2 separate regions of the Homo sapiens genome follow, and region 1 is linked to region 2. Evidence: promoter capture Hi-C in 16 types of primary human blood cells and fetal thymus (Javierre and others, 2016). All regions are on one chromosome and are shown on one strand. Each heading gives the region's core, a stretch centred on a gene start or on the middle of the fragment in contact. The rest is flanking DNA. Distances are from core to core; before and after follow the strand shown. Region 1 overlaps DOCK4 (dedicator of cytokinesis 4). Region 2 holds the start of LSMEM1 (leucine rich single-pass membrane protein 1).

What was found. The method cuts DNA at HindIII sites, captures the fragments that hold promoters and counts their contacts. A CHiCAGO score of 5 or more calls a contact.
Region 1: a fragment that was not itself captured here is called in contact with the fragment with the promoter of LSMEM1 in region 2 in 1 of 17 cell types (neutrophils); the score reaches 5.5 in neutrophils.

Annotation. Positions count from the first base shown.
Region 1 is chr7:111,911,104-111,917,193 of GRCh38, forward strand. It overlaps DOCK4 (dedicator of cytokinesis 4), which reads right to left. Exons shown (of 53, transcript NM_001363540.2): 13 at 4,676-4,801. Among named protein-coding and RNA genes, the nearest start is that of DOCK4-AS1, 110 kb to the left of the region's middle. The HindIII fragment of the contact is 8,358 bases long and covers 1-6,090 here.
Region 2 is chr7:112,476,371-112,483,107 of GRCh38, forward strand. LSMEM1 (leucine rich single-pass membrane protein 1) reads left to right here and starts at 4,621. Exons shown (of 4, transcript NM_182597.3): 1 at 4,621-4,976. It overlaps IFRD1 (interferon related developmental regulator 1), which reads left to right. Exons shown (of 12, transcript NM_001550.4): 12 at 1-833. The HindIII fragment of the contact is 7,612 bases long and covers 1-6,737 here.

The DNA of each region.
Region 1 (6,090 bases), core at 1,960-4,459, 570 kb before region 2:
GGTCCTGTTGGTATAATCATGTGCCTCACCTGTTTTGACCCTATCAGAATGCTAAAGATGCAAATTAACTCTGAAGGACACATCTAGACAATGAAAAAAAAATTATGCTTGCAGACGGTCAGTGTAACATTGGGATCAGAAATATTGTTCACACACACTTTCTCATGGAAGAATTCAGCTCAAGTTTTCATTAGAGCCACTGGTGAGAATGAATTGACAAGTCTGAAAGTAACAAAGGAAAACAAAACAATGATTGCATGTTTCCTAGTGTAAAAAATTCCACTGAGTTTTAAAGTTGCTTTCAGTTGTTTAAGGAAATACACACATCTCTCCCTTTTCTATTATGGAAGATTAAAAAGCCAGAGGAAGAAAGGGAAAAAAAAAAGAGAAGGAAGTGCTTTTAAAAAAACCTCTTTTGTACTCCCCTGAACTACAGACACATGTCTGAAAGAACAATTTTCCTGGACAGTGTAGACTTCGCATTACAAGGTGGTACCGGAAAGGGACAGAAACGAGCCTTATTCCACAGAAGTTCATGCCCATCATTAAAGCCACACAAAAGCTGCGTGAGCACAGCAGATCCCAGACAATTAATCAGCCAGTGAAGTGTCATCTTGCTTTATATTTTTCAATTTCTCCATGATACTGCCCAGAGACCAAGCTGAGGAATTCTTCCAGCAGCTGGCTGCATTCTGCTCTAAAATGTTTTTTTTTTTAATATATTAGATTTGCCCATCAATTTGCTTCCCAGTGGGATGAATTTTTTTTGTTGTTGAAGAGGAAATACCAGTTATTTATAGCAACTGAAGGAAATAATGGACAGTTGCAAGGGCCACAGAATAGCATGCCACCAAGTAAACAGTTCTATAAACAGTCATTTTCGACAACAGTACCATGAGATGCTCAGGCTGACTGGGTCCCTAAGCTAGGTCAGGTCATCTGAGGAAAACTTACAGGATGTTCTCTCAGCCTTCCTTGCATGAAGGAATTTCAGTCGGGCAATTACAAAATGGTGCAATGGGCGATACTGGTCATTTTAGGTCTTTATTCATAGCAATCTCATTATTGGGTCTCATAGCTATGCCAGGTGCCTTGTCAGATACAACTTCCTTTGCTTGCACTTACACATGGGATTTAAACAGTGGTTTAGAAGACCTCATTTAAAACAAATACTGTCAACAATTTAAGAGTATTTTATTTGGTCTATTGTTTTTCCCTTTTCTTGGTTGTGGAGGGTGGGGTATGGAGCACCCAGAAATACTACTACTTAGTATGCTATTCGTCATCTTCTATCTGTAGACAAAAGGGCAGAAGCTCTTTGTTTCTATGGAAGATCAAACACAAGTGAGGTCCTTTTATAATAAAATTCATGACTTAAAAAAACTCATTTCTTGATTTGTAAAAACAAGAGGATATGTCAAAAAAATTTTAAATGTAAGCCACAATAACCTGTGTAGCTTAGTCCTATTCTGAGGAGGGAGGAAGCAGAAGAGGGGGAGGAAGAGGAGGAGGAGAAGGAAAGAAGATGGAGGAGGGAGGAAAGATAAGAAGAAAAAGAAAGATTAAGATCAAGACAGAAAGGAAAAGAGAAAGAAAATAAGAGGTCCAGACACACACAAAGAAATAGATAGGTATAGACAGAACCAAGGCTTGTTGAAGATAACCCCAGCTGGTCATAGCCCTGTGTTCCTAGGGACAGTGTGAAATTTCTAGAACTCTAGTGGTTCATTACTAAATAACAATTAGACTTTTTCTTTTTTTTTTGCTTTTAAACTTCAAAAGTTTTTAAAAGGCTATTCTCTCACAAAATTATGACTTTCACAGAATTTTAGAAATTAAAATTTTTTAGAGCATAGAAATTTCCTTTTTTTTTTTTTTAGATGGAGTTTCGTTCTTGTTGCCCAGGCTGGAGTGTAGTGACAGGATCTTGGCTCACTGCAACCTCCGCCTCCCGGGTTCAAGCGATTCTCTTGCCTCAGCCTCCTAAGTAGCTGGAATTACAGTCACATGCCACCATGCCCGGCTAATTTTTTGTATTTTTAGTAGAGACGGGGTTTCACCATGTTGTCCAGGCTGGTCTTGAACTCCTGACCTCAGGTGATCTACCCGCCTCAGCCTCAGTGCTGGGATTACAGGCATGAGCCACTGCGTCAGGCCAGAAATCTCCTTTTAACATTGGAGGTGGGCCAGGCACTGTGGCTCAAGCCTATCATCCAAGCATTTTGGGAGGCCAAAGCAGAAGGATAACTTGAGCCCAGGGATTAGAGACCAGCCTGGGCAACATAGGGAGATCCCATCTTTACAATTTTTTTTTTTTTTTTTTTGAGACAGAGTCTCGCTCTGTCGCCCAGGCTGGAGTGCAGTGGCGCGATCTCCGCTCACTGCAAGCTCCACCTCCCGGGTTCACGCCATTCTCCTGCCTCAGCCTCCCGAGTAGCTGGGACTACAGGCGCCCGCCACCACGCCCGGCTAATTTTTTGTATTTTTAGTAGAGATGGGGTTTCACCATGTTAGCCAGGATGGTCTCGATCTTCTGACCTCGTGATCCGCCCACCTCGGCCTCCCAAAGTGCTGGGATTACAGGCATGAGCCACCGCGCCCGGCCACAATTTTTTTTTTTTTTTTTTAATTAGCCAGGTGTGGTGGTATATGCTTGTAGTCCTAGCTACTCAGGAGGCTGAGGTGGGAGGATCACTTGAGCCCAGGAGTTTGAGACTGCAGTGAGCAATGACTGTGCCACTGCACACCAACCTGGACAACAGAGTGAGACCCCATCTCTAAAAAAGAAAACACAAACAAACAAAGAAACAAAAGAAACATCAGAGGTACAGCCATGTTGGCTATGACTACACAGTCTTTCACTATTAAAGCAGGTACTTGCTATTAGTGCAGTGGAGAACAAAGACTCGGGGGATGTGGGCCTAGAATCATTAGCATTGAAGACCCTGCTCAGGTGTTACCTCCTCAGGAAATTTTAACGAGACTCCTTCAATAAGATTCTACAACTCCTCTGTGCTCTCCATGCTGCATTCTCCAACTCCTTTCGGGTTACAGCGTGTCTCTGCCTGTGGACTGTAATCCCCCTCAAAGTATAAACAGGTCTTACTCTCGCCATCTCCACTGCTAACACCTTGCTCAACACCATGATCACCACTTACCTGGATTAGTTCAAACAGCCTCCAAACCGGTCTCCCTGTTTCTCTGCTGCCCTCCCATATTCCCTCCAGGTATAATCTCTATACAGCAACCACAGTGATCCTGTGGCAATGTAAAGCAGTGTCACACCTCTGTTCCAAACCCTCTAGCTGTTTCCTTTCTCATTCTGAATAAGACCCAAAGTGCTGAGTGTGACCTACAAGGTCCACATGACTTCCCTCTTCGAATCTCCATTCCCATCCCCAGTACTGTATTTTGACCAAGTTAGCCTTCTTGCAGTTCCTCAAACAAGCCACGATTCTATGGCTGCAGGACCACTGCCCTTATTGTTGCTATGCCTGGAATCCTCTTATCTGCACGGCTTCCTCATGTCTTTTAGGTCTCTACTCTACTGCCTTCTCACCTAAATTTCTTACCTACCACAAATCTCCATCTCTCCACCCACTACCCTCTAAGACATTCCCTAGCCCTTTACCTACACTGGTTTTCACCTGAGCATTCATCATCTTTGAACATACATGTTTTACTTACATATTTATTATAATTTTCCTTATTACAAAGTAAGTCCTATGGGTTTCTTCTGTTGTGTTCAGTTTTATAGCCCCAGTATTTGGAAGAATGCCTTTGTACATAGAAAGTGCTAAATATTTATTTGTAGAATGAATGAACTCATCTTTTTAACTTTTGGCTCCTGGCACAAAGTTTTGATTGATGCTCAATCAATGCCTGCTGACTGACTAAATCAATTTTTGCTAAACACACATCCTTCCTCATCAGCAAACGTACTATTCTTATCCAATTCATAAGTTGTAGATGAACACACTCAGAAAACCCTAAATTTCCATAAGCACATAAAGGGGTGTGCTTTTAAACATTTATTTTCGTGGAGAGATTACGACTGACCCACTCCCAAATGCATCAGCTTCAATGAATCTGGCATTCATGTCACACTGTAAAACTGCTTAACCCACATCTTTTCTACTTTTGGGGAATTTTGGGGGCACTAATATAGATCTAAATCATACACACAAATAGATCTAGAAAAGGTATAGAAGTACATATAATATTTGCATATGGCTGCTTATTTACATATGGCTAACTAGTGTTCAGTACGTTTTTATCAAAACTTAGGATATCCTCTAAGCATCTTCACCAACATTTTCCATCAAGGAGTACAATATTTTCTGGACAGTAACTCAGTTTTCCTCCTTCTCCTGGTCATAATGAAATGTAGCCATGGCCCCCACAAGTTAACAACTTTAGAATAATCAGAATGTAAAGACATTTTTGAGCTTCAAATCACTGACAAGAAAGTTTATACAAAAGGAAATATTTTAAAATTAAACTGAAAAGGATATTTTAGAAAAAAATGTGCTTACTTACAGTCACATACCTCATTTCATTCTTCAGCATGGCCCATGTGAATGCTTCAAAGCTGGCAATTTGAAAAATTTCTCAAACATCAAAAACAGATAGTATACCCATATTTCATCATATCGGTACGTCCCAAGTCACCTACCAGGCATAATAATATTTGAAAATCCCAGCTTCCTTGTTATGGATACTCCATGAGAAAATACTGATGAATATTCCCTTCTGATTTGTTCAATGTCTCCGTGCAATAGCTGTAAGGAAACTGCTAAACCTAAAACAGATGAGAGATACCCGAGTTAAAAACAGAATAGAAATAGAATAAAGAGAAACTGATGTGTTGCAACAAGCCCAAATTTAGAATATCATGGTTTTAAACTAAGGGTTAATATTCCGACGAAATCGACAGAATCTATATGAATCATATCTGAATAACACTTTTCCAACTTCAACATCTGAGTTTCCCATTCATAAGGAGGTTCATAGCAAGTGGAGAAAATGAGCAGAACTCTAAGAGGCAGCCTGGCTTCCAACCCCCAAATCTCTCCTCCAACCCTAGTCTGGTGGAGCACGTTCCTGCGCCAACACTTATTCCAGAAGTAGATGAAGGTCACCTTGCCCTAAAAAATACTGACATCAAAATGGGAGGTTTAAAACAAAACAAAACAAAACAAAAGGCCTATGAATAGTTGCTTATCAAATATCAAAAGCATGAACACAAATCTGAAGACATATTAATTTAAGGATTTAAAGGATATTGATAGAGATTTTCTTGAAACATAAGTAACAAAGCCGATTATAATGAAACCAGGATTATATTAATAATATATACAGTAGAAACTCATGATGACATGATTTTCTAGTGAGGAGAATTTAGCAGAATACAGGACACCTTGACAAAGAAAAGAGAATTTAGTCAGTAAAGTAGGAAAAATTATTATTTTTACCCCAATTATAAGGACATTACCTTAGCTGGATATACAGAAGATGCAAAACACTTTTTATCATATATTATTTTCTCAATTTCCAGGCAAGAAGTACAGAAAACTTTAATGTCATATCATTGTGAATATGTCTGTATGCATACTCCAAAGATAGCACTTCTCTTTCAGCTTTTTCATTCCTTCTTTGTTTATCTTCTTATGTTTTAATTTTTAAGATAGCCAAATTATTATATTTTTAATTTTTTTATTTCCATGGGTTATTGTGGAATAGGTGGTATTTGGTTACATGAGTAAGTTCTCTAGTGGTGATTTGTGAGATTTTGGTGCACCCATCACCTGAGTAGTAAACCCTGAACCCAATTTGTAGTCTTTTATCCCTCACCCACCTCCCACCCTTTCCCCCATGTTTTTTTTTTTTTTTTTTTTTTTTTTGAGACGGAGTCACGCTCTGTTCCCAGGCTGGAGTACAGTGGCGCGATCTTGGCTCACTGCAACCTCCGCCTCCCGGGTTCAAGCAATTCTCCTGCCTCAGCCTCCTGAGTAGCTGGGACTACAGGCGTCCGCCATCACACCCAGCTAATTTTTGTGTTTTTCGTAGAGATGGGGTTTCACCAAGTTG
Region 2 (6,737 bases), core at 3,371-5,870:
TCTGCTTGGCAACATGCAGTGTGGCTCATGCCTATAATCAGCACTCTGGGGAGGCTGAGGCGGGAGGATGGCATGAGCCCAGTTTGAGACCAGCCTGGGCAACATAGCGAGACCCTGTCTCTACCAGAAATTTAAAAAATGAGTGTGGTGGTGTGTGCTTCTACTCTTTATCTACTTGGGTGCTGAGGCAAGAGGGTAACTTGAGCCCAGGAGGTCAAAGCTGCAGTGAGCCGTGATTGTGCCACTCCAGCCTGGGTGACGAGTGAGACCTTGTCTCAAAAGCAAAACAAAAAAGAATATTGCTGCTTGTTTGCCCATGAGGTATATTTCTTTCATTTTATGAAAAGCATTTTGACAACACGTTAACATTTAATAAACTTTAGATTAAAATATATAGTGCAAGCAACATGCCATTTCAAATCCGTAGACTTGTTTCTTTGATACTCTTGCTGTAGGTCGCCGTGAGGGGTAGGGAAGCATATATACTGTAGGGAGAAGTATCAAAATCATTTAAGGTCTTTTTTCCAAACTAGTGTTCCCCTCCCACATCCCAACAACTCTTGGAAGTCTGGTGCTCCCTCTAGGTGAAAATCATTTGCTGGCTTATGGAGTCACTGTTGCTGAGTCCCATCCCCCAGTTACAGTGCAGTGGAAAACAGGTTTAGAATCTAGAACTTGTTTGTATGTTGTCACTTGGTTATGTTCCAAGTAGGTTAGAACCATGGAAAAGAGATTGCAAATGGTAGTTTCTTCTAGATATTCAAATGCATATATGTATGTACATGTAATTATAAATAAATAATGAATTTTTATTAAAGTGTTGTATGAACATAGGTTTTTGTTTGTTTTTGAGACAGTCTCCCTCTGTTGCGCAGGCTGGGGTGCAGTAGCGCAATCTTGGCTCACTGTAACCTCTGCCTTCAGGGTCCAAACGATTCTCCTGCCTCAGCCTCCTGAGTTGCTGGGATTACAGGTGTGTTCCACCACACCTGGCTAATTTATATTTTTAGTTGTGATGGGGTTTCACCATGTTGGCCAGGCTGGTCTTGAACTCCTGACCTCAAGTGATCTGCCCGCCTTGGTCTCCCAAAGTGTTGGGATTACAGGCATGAGCCACCGTGCCCAGCCTGAACATAGTTTAATGGTACTTCAAGGCTAATAAGGAAAGCCCCTTGCTCCATCCTTTCCTATTCCTCAGTCCCATCCCAAGAGACATTCAGCCTTCAGTTTTTTCTAGCTCGGTTCTTTCAGCCTTCAGTTTTTGGTTTTAGGTTTCTAAATAATATGATTATACAGCCATTTATTTTTTAGGTGTTTGTCAACTTACTATTAAGACAGGTGAAAATTTCTTTTATTGTTTCACATCCTTCTAATATTATTTTGGTTAGATCATGTACCTGTTTGCATAGCTGTGATCATACTTGTATGTTCACTCGTGAATTAATTTAATGTGCTTACATTTTCATTCTCATACAACGTTTTGTCTTGGAGTTAATGCTCTTTTTTTTGGCTTTTTATGCACATCATTGATTCTTCCCAAACAGTCCCAAATAAATTTGTCACAACTTTTCTTGATTCTGTACTTGTTTCAATCTAGACTAGTTTCTCTCATCCAATTGTATAGCAGTTTTCCTGAGACAGCACTATCGTGAGGATTTGTTTTTCTTTCTCTTGAATTGTATCCCTCATTTTCTGGATCCCATGTCTTAATTTACTTCTTTGTTAACATGGAGCACTTCTTTCAGTAGTTTCTTGGGAATGAGTGCGTGAGAGATCAGTCAGTTATTTAGTGACTTCATATTTCTGAAAGATAGTTTGCATGGAAATTCTAGGTGGAAAATCAAATTTGGAATTTTTGAAAATTTTGACAAGTGTATTCAAATTCAGAATTTTGAAGGCATTGCTCTATTCTAATTTGCAAAATCTTGAGATATCTGATGCAGTTTTTATTTTTATTTCTTTGTTTTCTCAGCATCTCTGTTTCTAGTGTTCTAAAATTGCATGATACTGTGCTTTGGTGGGATTGGCAACCTGGAAAATATTAAGTTCTTCATCTCTTCTCTTCCTCCTCATTTTCTTTGTTCTGGAACTCTATGACATAGTGGAGCTCCCAAATTGAATCTTGGGCCTTATTTATTTTTTTTTTTTCTGTCTGGGATATTTCTCTAAGACAATTTTCCAATTTGTATTGCATTTTGTTTTTGGCTAGCATTAAATTACTTGCCTCTGTGTAGCTCCATGCCACACTCTTGCCTCTAAATCCTAGGCCTGCCTGAATTCTGCAGGATCAGTCCTACTGTCACTCATCTGTGATAGCCCTGCTAAGGCAGATACCACTCTTCTTACCATGTTCAATACATTTATTGAGCTCTTCAGTATTGTTTCTTCCTATTTTAATTTTTCTGGTTTTGTAATTTGTACTCCTGCTTTTTTACTGGGCTTTTGGGAGGAAGAAGGTATAGAGTGTTAATCTGCATGTTGAATTTATATGCAGGTGACTTTATTCATGAAACTTGTGGTAACTGCTAGACAAGGGTGGCTGGGTGTTCAATGTGTAAGAATGCTTGTGTTTTCTTGAAAGTAGAAAAATGTTGTGTTATAGACTAGTTGTTCATTGCTTGATTCTTGATTAATTTTGCCCGCTTTCATTATTTTGAGGCTCAAGCATTTTGAAGTATTCATTGTCTGTGACTCCTCTTTGATGGGTACTAAATTTCCTGGGAGTGAATTTAGATACCCTGAGATGTAATATATGAAAGAAAAAGCAAATACTTGAGAATGTCCCTAGATTAGACACTTCATGTGAGAATATCTCTTTTTGTGACCCAAAACTCTTTTTTTTTCTTTTGAGATGAAGTTTCGTTTTTGTTGCCCAGGCTGGAGTCCAATGGTATAATCTGCCTCAGCCTCCTGAGTTGCTGGGATTACATGCATGTGCCACCACACCCGGCTAATTTTGTATTTTTAGTAGAGATGGGGTTTCTCCTTGTTGGTCAGGCTGGTCTCGAACTTCCGACCTCAGTTAATCTGCCTGTCTCGGCCTCCCAAAGTGCTGGGAATACAGGCATGAGCCACCGCACTCGGCCCCAAAACTCTTCTTAAAGGTGGTCTTGCAGGTATGTTATAGTTAAAATGAAGTAGGTTGTCTTGCTTTGTTCTTAAGTGGCTTTCCAGAAGTCTAACTGGTCTAAAGGCAGTCTTATCCCCCTCACTGGTGTATAGTTCAATTCAGACTTGAATGCGAGGTATGGGTTTACATCTCATCTCTGCCACTTATAATCAGTGTATCCCTCAACAATTAAATTCCTTAGTCTCCATTTCCTTCCTCCTTCAGGGGAAGTTAATATTCCACAAAGTTAGAAGTTACAGGAGAGGAAAAGTAGTAAACGCCCCAAAATGAGGCAGTTACTTCTATTATATCTTCAAAGGATACATGGCTCAAGGCAGATCAGGTAGTTGGGAGATTTCTTAAAAACAGCATAATAGCTAACATGAACATTTTCATTATTCAGAGAAATTTGACATAGCTTTTTAACGTATGTTTCTGAGAAAAGTTACTAGTTATATTGTCTTCCTCCAAGAATTAGTCTTTGGGTACAGATGAGGCTTGAAAAAATGACATTCCCTCTTAGACTAGGTAGTGTGAAGGGAAAAAAAAAATGACATTCCTCTTCCCCCAAAGCAGAGTGAGGTCCGTATGGGATATAGGTGTAAAGAAAATTTTGGGCCGGGCATGGTGGCTCAAGTTTGTAATCCCAGCACTTTGGGAGGCCGAGGTGGGTGGATCACTTGAGGTCAGGAGTTCAAGACTAGCCTGACCAACATGGTGAAACCCCATCTCTACTAAAAATAAAGAAATTAGCCAGCTATGGTGGCACATACCTGTAATCCCAGCTACTTGGGAGGCTGAGGCAGGAGAATCTGGAAGCAGGAAGGTCTCAGTAGGCTGGGATCATGCCACTGCGCTCCAGCCTGGGCAACACAGCAAGACTCTGTCTCAAAGAAAATTTTGTGGAACACCTATTTTCTCACTGACATGAAAAATGTTTCAAAGATGAATAATGTCCATCAAGCTATGGCAATGGAAGTGAGGATGATAAAGGATTGCACAGTTGTTCACAACCTCACTGTTAGTATCCTGCTGAGATAGTTGGTCTCCTCATCACTGTAGCATCTTTTATGTACAGCAGAGGGCAGAAGCTCCTTGGCATGTATGTGAGGGAACCACATATATGGAAGGCTGTTATTCCTGAGAAAGGAGGATGTGCAGACACTCACAGAACAAAGCCTTTGTAAAGGAAAGGCGGCCGATGAGATGGAGTGCTTCCTTCACCTGTGGTGGGTCTGTATCCATGAAATCGCCCACTCACAATCGCTTTTTGTAGCTACTGGAAGCACTAGGCGTCTGACCTGCCATCATCCTTGTTATGATGTCATAATCATATTCTGTCCGTGTTTATTGCAGTTCTCTGGTTTGTCTGGAGTGTTTGCAAGTCAGTCATCATAGTGGCAGCTTCCGCCTGCTACAGGATATTTATATATGGAAGCATACCATGGCAGGAGTGCTGGAAAGGTGGTGTCAGCTAACAGTTGCTTCAGCCAGATAAGGACGGTAACTTCAGTCCAATAAAAACCTCATCAGTTACCAACTAAATCAGGGCATGGTGTTTTTTTGTTGTTTTCTTTTTAAAGCATAGTTTTAGTAATATATTTACTAAAAACCTTAGACATTATGAAAAAAGTCAGGATTTGGAATCTTACACTGCTTGGCTAAATTGACACAATATAGACCAACAGTTTCATCCTGGGGCTTATGGGTCTCATAGGAGCACCCGTATGCTGAAGAAAGGCAAAGAGAGAACTACAGAATTTGTAGAAAAGTTTTGTTGTAGTTGCTTCTGAACAATTAGTTTTTGTTTGTTTGTTTTGTTTTGTTTTGTTTTTCTGGTAACCTAGCAGTCAAAGCTCACATTTTTGTAAGTAATTTGCATGCTATTACTCTACTGAGACTGAATTATGATTCTCGAGTCTGGGAAGTTTTTGTTGCATGTGCTCTGTGTTTTTCATTTTTGATAGAAATGATTTAGACTTGATTTTAAAAATTACTTCCTGAATGTGAAGAGGCATTGACTGGGAAATGAAATTAAAGAACAAATTACCATGACTCATTCAATAACACTGCTTATTAGCTTTGAATTATGCCCTATTATAACAATTCTGATTTTGTGGCAAGCAATACTGGTGTGAGTTATTTCTGTGGTTTGATACCAAGCACCTGCCTGGTTAAAAAATAAAGCACCAGGCAATTTTTCATAGACAATTATCTTTATTTGTTGGAATATTTATTTGTAAATAGTCAAAGAATTCTTAAATGACAAAAAATCAACTGTTAGCAGTGATCTAAACCAGAGGAAAATGAAATTACTTACATGTTTCCAGTCAAGGTATAAGAAAGGGTTCTGTTAAAGGGATGCTGCTTTAGCCAATCTTGGTGAATAAGCAAATTTGCACACTGGAGTTGAAAGGAGGGTCAAGTTAGTGTGATGAAGAATTGCTAGTAACACTGGCTTCTCCAGCCTTGCTGGTTGTTCCTAGATGCCCTCATTTGGAGATGCCAAAGATAGCAACTACTGGGTGTCAAACAGCCGTGGGGCCTGGTTTTAAGGCCATGTGATCTTGTATCCCTTTACTAGCAGCCTCATGAGTCATTTGCAAGTCATTTGCAGGCTCTTGGAGCCCTGGAACAGCACCCAACTCAGTTTTCTCTGCTAGTTCTTTATTTTTCCATTTGCGTGTTGCAGCTCATTAAAAAAATATTGGAATAGCATATATTTACATTGTGACTTCACTCTAAAGAAGACATTTTCTTTCAAAGCACGTCATGGCTCACTAGGTTGTTGTCTTAGTTTTTTTTGGAGTCACCTTTTGAGTAGATAGCAAGACCAGTAATATGGAGATTTTATTAGCTGTACTCTTAAAGTCAGTTTTTGTGGCCATGATTTTCTAGCTAGGTCTCTATTTTGTAAACATTGATTAAGCCTCAGTATGAAATTGAAGCAACAGCAGATACATTCCTGAAGGGGAAGCTAAGGCTCAAGGCTATTAAGTCAGAGATCCAAAAATGAACCATGCTTCAGTTACCACACCTAAAATAGAAGCTGTGTGCAGAACAGTGGTCCTGTGATGTGACACATAAAACTTTTTTTCCTGGTCACATATTACTGTTTGGTCAAATATTAGTATAAATGGATGATAAAATATGAAACACATCTAAAAGAATTGTTTTAAAATCTGTGACTATGCATGAGTGAATATTTTGGGGCCTTGGTTTTAACTGCAAAAGGATAAGATTTGACTGACCTCTAAGGCCCTTTTACTCTATTTGCTGCTGCTTTTTAATTTTTTTTAATTGTCATATCAAGTCATTTCCTTAGGAATGCTCTATGAAGTATATTTGGAATTCAGTAATGTCAATAAAGTGCTATGGTAGTATCTTATCTGAAAACTCAGGGAATTGTTTGTTCTTGTTAATTAAAATTTCAAGATAAGTGAAACACACTTTTTTAGTTTTAACCCTAAAAAAAATTTTTAGTCCATGACTTTTTGAGCTCACTTTCTTAGCTAGGGTTCTGGTAGCACATTTTTCACAAGTACCAGTAGTTTTAGGTATTACTGGGAAATTGTTTTTTTAATATTTTAGACTAAGTTTAAATTGCTCAGTAAGTGTCTGATACTTT